Regions from separate parts of the Homo sapiens genome. Here all the other regions are linked to region 1. The links are contacts of gene promoters, found by promoter capture Hi-C in human tissues and cell types (Jung and others, 2019). All regions are on one chromosome and are shown on one strand. The core of a region is centred on a gene start or on the middle of the fragment in contact, and the rest is flanking DNA. Distances in the headings are between cores, read along the strand shown. Region 1 holds the start of SIX6 (SIX homeobox 6). Region 2 overlaps PRKCH-AS1 (PRKCH antisense RNA 1). Region 3 overlaps SLC38A6 (solute carrier family 38 member 6).

Region 1 (3,140 bases), core at 343-2,842:
AGATCGGTCCCAGGGACATGGGATACCATTTCTAACGGTGCGTCTGCCTGGGGCTTACGCCTGAGCAAGTGCTCCCGCGATCGCGTTGGATCGGGTCGGCCCGACCTAAAGGCAAAAAGGATTGTAAGGAGCATTTGGGCCTGGGGGATGAGGCCGGGCTCTTCCGCAAAATGTTTGGCTAATCGAGATCCACACTCCGGGAAACGAAAAGCCTCGGCCCACGGACTAGTTTGCTGTTTTGAGACAAGAGTGGCAGGCAGCGCATGGGAAGAGGAAAACTCGACTTCCCATTTCTCAAAAGTCCATTGAAAACTGTTTTCAAAGCATTAGGGAGGGATATACCTGGGCTTTGAAAATGATAATTAACATGAAACCGACACATTGCTAATAAGCCAGGCTTCGATTAATAGTAGGAGCCTGTGCCCAGGCTGACAAGAATTAGCTTTGGGTCTTGGGGTCCCTAACTGTTTGTAGGATTTTAATTTTTTATTTCTCTTCCCCTCTCCGTCCCAGTGAAGCCTTGGTTTGGTGACCGGGACCAGCTGCTGCAGCTGCCCGCAGGCGTGGGGAGCCAGCGGGTGGGGAAGCAGAGCCGGCAAGGGAACTCCCGGCCAGGAGCCCAGAACGCAGGGCTCTTAACCCAAGACAGACCGCGCTCCCAACTCCTGCTGAATTGGAGTCGCCAGGGACTGGGTAAGGGCGCCAGAGGTGCCTCCACCCGCCTCCTCCCCGGTGCGCTCAAAGCGCGGAGGCCTCTAGGTACCGACCTGTTCTTGGCTGCAGCCGCTCGGTCCCTTTGTCGGCGGTTTTTGAACCAGTTGCCCACCTGCGTAGGGGTCAGTCCGGTTGCCTGGGCGAGCTCACGTTTTTTGCTGGGGTTAGGGTATGGATCCTGCAGGTACCACTCGCGTAGCAGGTGCCGCGTGCGCTCCTTGAAGCAGTGTGTCTTCTGTTCGCCGTCCCAAATGGTGCGCGGCAGCGGGAACTTCTTCCTTACTCGGTACTTGTCCACAGGTCCCAGGGGTCTTCCACGCAGCTTCTCAGCCTCCTGGTAGTGTGCTTCAAGCCACAGCGCCTGCAGCTTGGCGTGCGACTCCTTGGTGAACTTGTGGTTTTCCAGGATATGATAGAGCTCGCGGTAGTTGCCACCGTGAAAGGCCACGATGGCTCGTGCGCGTAGCACCGACTCATTCTTGTTGAGGGCCTCGCAGGCCGCAGGGGCCACGGGCAGCGACCAGAGGAAGCGACCCAGGCGCTCCACATCGCCGCTCTCTTCCAGGGTCTCACATACCCCGGCCACTTGCTGGGGGCTGAAATTCAAGATGGGCAGCTGGAACATCGAGGCAGTGCCGGCGGCGGCGAGGGCACTGAGCCCGGAGCGGGACACGCAGCAGATGCCCGCGGGCCTGGCTGAGTGTGCCAGGCGCTTGTTGATGAGGCGGATTGGGGCAGCGGGACACACTACCGGGTGGCGGCGGTGGCTCAACGGCCGGGAGCGGACGACCCCGACTGGAGGAGGTGCTGGCTCCGCGGCTTGGGGTTCGGGCTCGGCTCGGCTCAGGCACGCCGGCAGGCGAGCTGGCTCCGCTATTGGGGTGGGCGGATTGGCGGCGCGGGCGCCATGGAGACCCCCTGTCAGTCACCGGGTGGCTCTGCCAATCAAAGCTTGAATCAGCACGCCAGGACTATTTCAGCACCTCCCCGTGCTCGACAGCGCCCGCCGTTAGCTCCTGGACTTTTCTTCAGTATTTTGCAGAACCTGGAGGTTGAAAAGACATGCGAGTGTCTGGGAGAAAAAGAGAGGCGAGTGCGGCAGCGTTCACTACTCCTCCCTCCCCCACCCCGCTCTACCCCTCCCTCCCTTTTTCCCACCAAATAGGCAGTGATGCCACAGGAATTCAGGAATTCACTTTGGGGCGATGCGTTGTCTCGGTCGAGAGGTCTCCAGAGGACAAAGAGGACTGGGCCAAACTGAAATGCTCCGAGAATTCGCAAGTTTAGTTGTAACGAAACAGCAAACCTTGCGGTGGGAGCAGGAAGCCGGTGGGGGGAAGCGATCTTCTCATTTTTCCCAAGTACCCATCTCTGCATGCCTCCCTCTTCCCCTTTCCAGTTGCCAAAGCAGCTGAGTGGGAAGCAAATCTGGAGCAGCAGGAACAGGACCAGGGATCTGTAGAAGAGGTCAGTTTGAACTCTAGCCTTACTCCCTTCAAAGCCCACTAAAATAATTTTAAATGCCAACAAGGACATGTTCACGTCTGATAACGCAGATGCAGACCACGAAGTCAGACACTTTAAGAAAAGAAGGGTGGGCTGTAGGGACCTCCAAATAAAGGGGGAGAAATATACTTTCTCCCCCTCCCCCAGTTTAATGGACTTGAACAAAGTGCAGCATAGCCACATCTAGAGCCGAGAAGTCATTGGTAGGTCAGGACAGCAACTTAAAAGCTTATTTCCTAGATCTTTTTTAAAATATCGACTTAACTCCTTTCCTTGTAGGCTTATTTTGCCCCTACCTTGTGTTAGAACTTATACCTCTTGAGCTGGGGATAACAACTCTAACCTTGGCATTTTAGCTCAAAAACAATTCAGTAAAAATACAATACAGAAGGGCATCCACGACAATGCGGGGGCCCAGAAAGCACTTCCTAAGCCGCTGATTATTGACCCCTCCTGTAGTGAGGAAGGAGTGGCTTGGTGGCTCTGACTTTGGGCTAGTGGAGTGAATTGGCAACTTTTATTGATTCCCAATTGGCAGTCCACATCATACCATTTTCTGAGGCCTGGGTCAAAGAAACCATGATCTCATCTGGGCCTGTGGTAGGGGTTTGTTTAGTTTGAAGAAAATAACTGGTAGGGGGCTGTATAACAAAAACGCCAGGAAAACCGTTTTGGGGAGGTCCATCCCTAGACAGAAATCAGGTGAGAACGTTCACAGCCGAACTGGACTGGACCCGACTGTCTTTTCTTTAGTATCAAGTACAATTTGTATGCGGCTTGTACAGATCTGGTAAATCAGAAGGCAGATAGATAGCACAGATGGTTGGAGGTGTCGGGTCAGATCACGCCACGCCTGAGTGCAGGGCAAAGCTCGTTCTGACGGAAAACCCTGATATTATTTTCACAGATCTTCACAGTTC
Region 2 (3,140 bases), core at 280-2,779, 790 kb before region 1:
GGTTTTCCATGAAACCAGTTCCTAGTGCCAAAAAGGTTGGAGACCACTGCAGCAGACAAATATGAGTTCACCAACATTCTTAGAAAATCAGCAGCATAATGCTCTGAAGTGGAGGTGAAGGAACTGTATTCTCTCATTTGACTCAGGAGCCCCAGGCCCAAGTCTAAGTTTGAGAGGGATTATTCTTGTGTCACACAGAAAGGAATAGTTTCTGTATGCAAGGTAAGTTTCATAAGACTGTGGAATTACATTCTGGATTTCTCCTTAATAAACTGTAACATTGGCAAATTTTATATGAAAAATAAAATGTTTCTACCCTGATTGAAACCATAGCATGAAAATATTAACTAATGCACGTTACTTTCTTCTGCATAGCCTAGCATTTGAATGCCAAGTGCTTTCCATATTTGAGATGCACAGTGCCATCTAATGGTCACAAACCATAAGCCAAAAGAAGAAGAAAGGGAATCAGAACTGAAATAATAATAAAATAGTAAAATCTAATACATTACAAGCTTCAAAATTGCATAGTTAACTGCCCTTGCCTACAAAAATTTTATCTTTGCCTTAGTCATTGTCATGTGAGTTACAATCATGTGAGTTACAAATGATCATATTGCATAGATAACTACAGATCACATGTTAAATTAAAATAATTCATGACAAACCTGAAACCATAACTTATATGCACTTTACAACTTTCTACTTTCACTCTTCAATCACCTGAAACTATAATACATAGGGTTCCTCATGCGTATACACTATTCCCACAGAAACAAAATCATTAGAAATACCTTGGATGAAATAATATGTTTAGGATAGTTTTTTAAAGGGAGGGTAAGATTAGGGGGATAGATAAAAGGATATTATCTTGATGTCTACAAGTTTAGCAGATGGCCAGTCTTCTGCATGGAAAATGACTATTCTAACCATTCTCCCTGCAGCCCTTCAAGACAGAGGAGATTATGGGGCTACTGAACGTATCTTGGACTTTAGAGAAAGAAAGTGAAGCTGAGCTGAGATCCATTGGTTCTATTTTGGAAAGATGCACCCCGTGGCATGACCTTCACAGCTCAGTTCTGGGGTCAAAGGAATTTTCCATTGCTCACACTGCCACCCAACTCTGGGGGCATAAGTGTGGAAGTGGTACAGCACACATGGAGAAGGGATGGGAGGAGCAGGGGTGTGTATCAGCTTAGCCGATCCCCCGAGGAGCTGCCAAGCTTGCTACCCCAAGAACAATGCCTCATAGCTCTGTGACCTCTTCAAGATTAAGGCTCTTTGATCTCAGCCCTTCTGAAGTGGTTTGAACCATATTCTATACAAAATTGGTAACTCCCCCATAAGAATTGCTTTTTAAATATCCTGCTCTATTTGAAAAAGGAATTTTAAAAATAAAGTTTACCCTTTTACTCTCTCCCAGCAAGTGAGATATTCAAAACAACAAAAATTCCTCTAACATGTTATGATGTGGAAACTGGTATTTTACTGATTTGTCTTTTCCACTTGGCTTCAAGTTCTTTGGGGAATGAAGATCATATCAATCCCTAGCCGACCGCTTCAGGCACAACTGCAAATGTTTCTTGAATGAACTTCCAGGCTTACCTGAATTCTAAGGGGGATTTCCACCATAATGGGAAAGCCACAAGAAAACCAGCAAAGGGTTTAAAAAAAAAAGGGTGAAAATATAAGTTATTTATCGGGGGTTATCACTTTATGCAGAGAGCATTCGAAACAATGATTTCCACAAATGGGCAGCAACAGTAACAGCCATACTAAGCCATTGCTTTCTTTACTTCCTCTTGGTCTAGAATATGCTGCAAAGGGAGAAGAAGGAAGACGTGTGGTATGGAATCACCTATGGATAAGGTTGAGAACCATGGGCTAGATGCTATGGAGACCAACGTATCACTTACTAGGCTTTACTTTGTGCCAGGCACTGGATTCGGCATTACCCCATTTAAGCCTCACTACCATCCTTCATGTTACTATTCCACGTTGCCGCTCAGGAGAAACAAAATTTTTTTATTAAATTCAAGTAACCTGAGGTCCCATATTTAGTAAGAGGCAGAGGAGTTAGATGTGTCAATAGCTAAATTACATGGCTGTGTCCTCTAGCTGGCCAGGGACTGACAACATCAGTATCACCTGGTGACTCTCCCAGGGGAGATGTTTTTAAAAATCTTTTCCAGTAATTCTGTGCAACATGGCAATCTGAAACCAGTCTTTCAGACCTGGAAGTTCTTTAGAGACCACAGGACTCTCTTTGATATTTTTTCTTTTGAATTTTTTTAAAATACAGAATCCTTTTTCATGTTCTCTGTTTATAAAACAACTGCATGTCAATTACATTATTTTTTAGAAGATAGGTACAAGAGCCAGGCGTGGTGGCTCATGGCTGTAATCACAACACTTTGGGAGGTCGAGGCAGGTGGATCATTTGAGGCTGGAAGTTCGAGACCAGCCTGGCCAACATGGCAAAACCTGTCTCTACTAAAAATATAAAAAATTAGCCTGGAGTAGTGGTGCATGTCCCAGCTACTCGGGAGGCTGAGGCATGAAAATCGCTTGAACCCGGGAGGTGCAGGTTGCAGTGAGCCAAGATCGCACCACTGCACTCCAGCCTGGGCAACAGAGCAAGACTGTGTCTTGACAGCAACAAAAAAAGAAGATAGGTATAGGAATTAAAAAGAAAGCAAATAATTACTGGTAGCCTGACCACTAAGAGATATATACTGATATTTTTTTTGCGGGGGGTGCATCTCCTTGCAGGCCTTTTTGTATGTTTATGTTCAAACACATTTGTAACAACAATGAATAAAAAACGCATAATATTCAATGACTTTTTATTCGGTCTTCAGTGTATTATTGATATCTTATTATGACAGTAAATAGGTCTGCAACAATATATTCAATTCTCATCTTATATTCCATCAATAAATCTACCATCACAGTTAAAAGATTTTTATTTGTGACTTGAATGAAGGGTTATATTGATCACATGCTTGGGTGACACAAGCCTAATATACTAGATATAAAGAATCAGAACATAAATAATATTAATAAATGGGAATTATGATCCTAAATCAACATAAAATTTAAATAAAAATCTAAAACTTCAACGTCAGGCATGGAGGCTC
Region 3 (3,140 bases), core at 354-2,853, 520 kb before region 1:
CAGAAATTTACCCTTTATTCCTCCTTAAGAGCATCTCAATCTCAGACCTGTCTTAGCCTATCTCACACCCCCAAGGAATGCAAGGATTATATCTGGTGCTTCATATGGTTCACAGAACAGCGCTTTCATATGGGTAATCAAACATTGGCTGAGTAGTTTCTATTCTATTACTGCTTCACTTCTGCCTAATTTGTAACTGTCTTGAGGGCAAGGACTACATTTATTTTACCTGCCACTACAAGTATTGCCATTTACAGCTTAATACATATTTATCAAATTAATACATGAACGGACACAATGTAAAATACTTTTTCTTACCTACTATAGTCTCCAGTCAAAAATTCTGCAATAGCAGCAGGAAGCTCTGTTTTAATAATTAAAAGATAAGATGACATAGCTGCAAAAGAATAAATAGTGTTCCTATTAGAATTCTATGATTCTTAACCATTTAAACAATAATCCATCTAGGAAAAGAGATGTCCATTAGAGCTATGACAACATATGGAAGATTAACATATAACACACTATACCAAAGATACATACACACACACACACACACACACACACACACACACACAGAAAAGTAACTGTAGAGAAGAATAACAATTGTTAAGTTCATTAAGTATCTTTTGTTTACATTTCAAGTCCAAAGCAAACTAGGTAAGAGAAACAGTCTTGATTACAGGCTACTTTTAAATGAAATTTTGTACAAAGTTTTACAAAAACTCTCTTATATGTTATCACTCCGTCTAAGGCATTAGAGGTTAGTTTAGCAACAACAGACATAGACACAGAAGTTTAATAGGTATGGCTAGTAACTGGATTATCTGTTCCTTCTTACTAGAGAAAGATGCCTCCCCACAACAGAGAAGTCTCATTCCCTCTGTCCCTTTCTTTTCCTCTCTCTACTACCCACCCCTGCATTATGAACACATATAATTATAGGATAAAAAAGAATACATAATGAATTACATTTAAAATTAGTCTCTAAAAAGATTAGAGAAAGTTCAATATAAACCATTAAATATATTAAAAAGACAAAACTTCCAACTTTTATTCCATTTTATTAACAGGGTTCATCTATATTATGTAATCATAACCTGAAGCTAGCATTATTTCTCACATTTAATCTAACAGAGTCCGATAAATAACTACCTTTTATAGCACTTTAATAACGATCCTAATTCTGATGTAGCTATAAAAACAAATTCTATAAAAATACTAGGAAAAGTTTTAATATGGTTACAGAATACAGAACTCATTCATATGTAAATACTTGAGTTTAAGCTTAAATATATAGAAACTCAGAAGATTTGTAGTCAGAACTTCAATTTAACAGAGTAAGATTCTCTTTCCTCCCAGAGATTATGTTTGTGTGTATGTGTTGGGGCCAAAAAGGAAACGCCCATGAAGAACAAAGAGTGTTTGGGAGGCCAAGGCGGGCGGTTGACGAGGTCAGGAGTTCGAGACCAGCCTGGCCAACATGGTGAAATCCTGTCTCTACTGAAAATACAAAAATTAGCCAGGCGTGGTGGCAGTTGCCTGCAATACCAGCTAACCTGGGAGGCTGAGGCAGGAGAATCGCTTGAAACTGGAAGGCGGAGGTTGCAGTGAGCCGAGACTGCACCACTGCACTTCAGCCTGGGTGAAAGAGCAAAATTCCACCTCAAAAAAAAAAAAAAAAAAGAATAAAGAGTATACTTTGTGTGCACATTAATTTTATTACTTATTTATATATCAGGAAACATTTCACTTTCTCCTTACAAAACTTACAAAAGCTAAGAACAAAAATGAAAGTCAAGTTTCAATGGCAAAAATCTGGGGAAAAATTGATTAAAAGGCTCAAATAGTTTAAGAAGAATGTATATTTCTCAATCAACATCATTTGAAAGGAGCTGAACTTCATGATTACAATGCTATGTGACCATTTAACTTGAGGAAAAAAAGGATACATGCTACTTTGCGTGTAAATTTGTATGGAGATAGATAATACTATAGACACAAAAACATACACTCTCAATTTTTTTTAGTAAAATAACATGTATTTATGTCAAAGTAAAATTTAGAACAGTTAAATAATCACTTCTCTGTGATGAAAATATACATATACATATTTTTTCAGTTTACAACGATTTCTTTTTCCCTAGCAGAAGTACAGCTATGTCTCAGTGGGTTGACTAAAATCCACTGAGACATTTCTGCAAAATCTTTTAGTTATGGGGTATTACAACTGATTGTATGTGAAAATGTGTTCTGTATTGTTCATATTCTCGTAAGGAAAAATGCTATCAATTTGGCACAGAACAGAAGGAAGGTTTAGACTAACCTTCTCCATTCAAGGATTTGGAGTTTTTATAATATTTTACCGATTCCAAAGAACTCTACACATATGGTGCAAAGATAAAAATTGTGAACTGAATTTTCTGAAACCGGCCTAGACTTACTTAAATATATCTTGTGAGAGAGACAGAAAAGAAAAAAGACAAAATACTTTGAAAACAAGGAAAGCAGACTTCCTATAAAATGTAATTTATTATCTGCCCATCTTTCTTTCTTGCTTGGATTAATCCAACACCACATGCATTTCTAAAGTTTCAGACATTCATCTCTTTCAGTAATTTTCTATTATTTCTTTTGGACCTTTAGCTGTAGAAAGCTTCAGTGAATATGAGATCCTATTTCTTTCTAATATAATATCTGTCATTCTTTCCAGAATTTCTATTAGCCCCTGGCTAATCATCTGATCACTTTTATCCTTTGTTGTACCCTCAACTCTTTGGTTTTCAAATGGGAGTACTATTTCATTAGATTCCAGTCTGAAGAATCATGTATATTTTAAGAAATATGAACTCACCAAACGTGTTTCTCTCTCAAAGAAGACCTCACATACAAGATACAAATATAATAAAACATGCAAAACATTGCTTCTTTTCTAGAGAATGTTAGTATATATTTTAAGAGTATACAACCACAGAACTTACTATAGGGGAAAACCCACACGGATTAAGCCAGTAAAACAAAGGCCACCACCATTCTATTCACTATGAAAATTATTTTTTTCTTAATCACAAGTAAACTTTCATGTAAGAACTAGCTAGCACTTTAACACATTATATTATATATAATACAGAAAAGAAACA

What was found. Contacts are between HindIII fragments. The study calls those that stand out against the background at their distance.
Region 2: a fragment that was not itself captured here is called in contact with the fragment with the promoter of SIX6 in region 1 in 1 of the 25 tissues and cell types used here (dorsolateral prefrontal cortex).
Region 3: a fragment that was not itself captured here is called in contact with the fragment with the promoter of SIX6 in region 1 in 1 of the 25 tissues and cell types used here (spleen).

Annotation. Positions count from the first base shown.
Region 1 is chr14:60,507,598-60,510,737 of GRCh38, reverse strand. SIX6 (SIX homeobox 6) reads right to left here and starts at 1,592. Exons shown (of 2, transcript NM_007374.3): 1 at 768-1,592. The coding sequence starts at 1,339. It also overlaps a transcript of C14orf39 not described here. The HindIII fragment of the contact is 5,424 bases long and covers 1-3,140 here.
Region 2 is chr14:61,294,402-61,297,541 of GRCh38, reverse strand. PRKCH-AS1 (PRKCH antisense RNA 1) reads left to right here. Exons shown (of 5, transcript NR_186042.1): 5 at 1,812-2,842. It also overlaps a transcript of PRKCH not described here. Among named protein-coding and RNA genes, the nearest start is that of TMEM30B, 15 kb to the right of the region's middle. The HindIII fragment of the contact is 3,903 bases long and covers 1-3,140 here.
Region 3 is chr14:61,027,702-61,030,841 of GRCh38, reverse strand. SLC38A6 (solute carrier family 38 member 6) reads right to left here. Exons shown (of 16, transcript NM_153811.3): 6 at 319-397. Among named protein-coding and RNA genes, the nearest start is that of SLC38A6, 48 kb to the right of the region's middle. The HindIII fragment of the contact is 3,792 bases long and covers 1-3,140 here.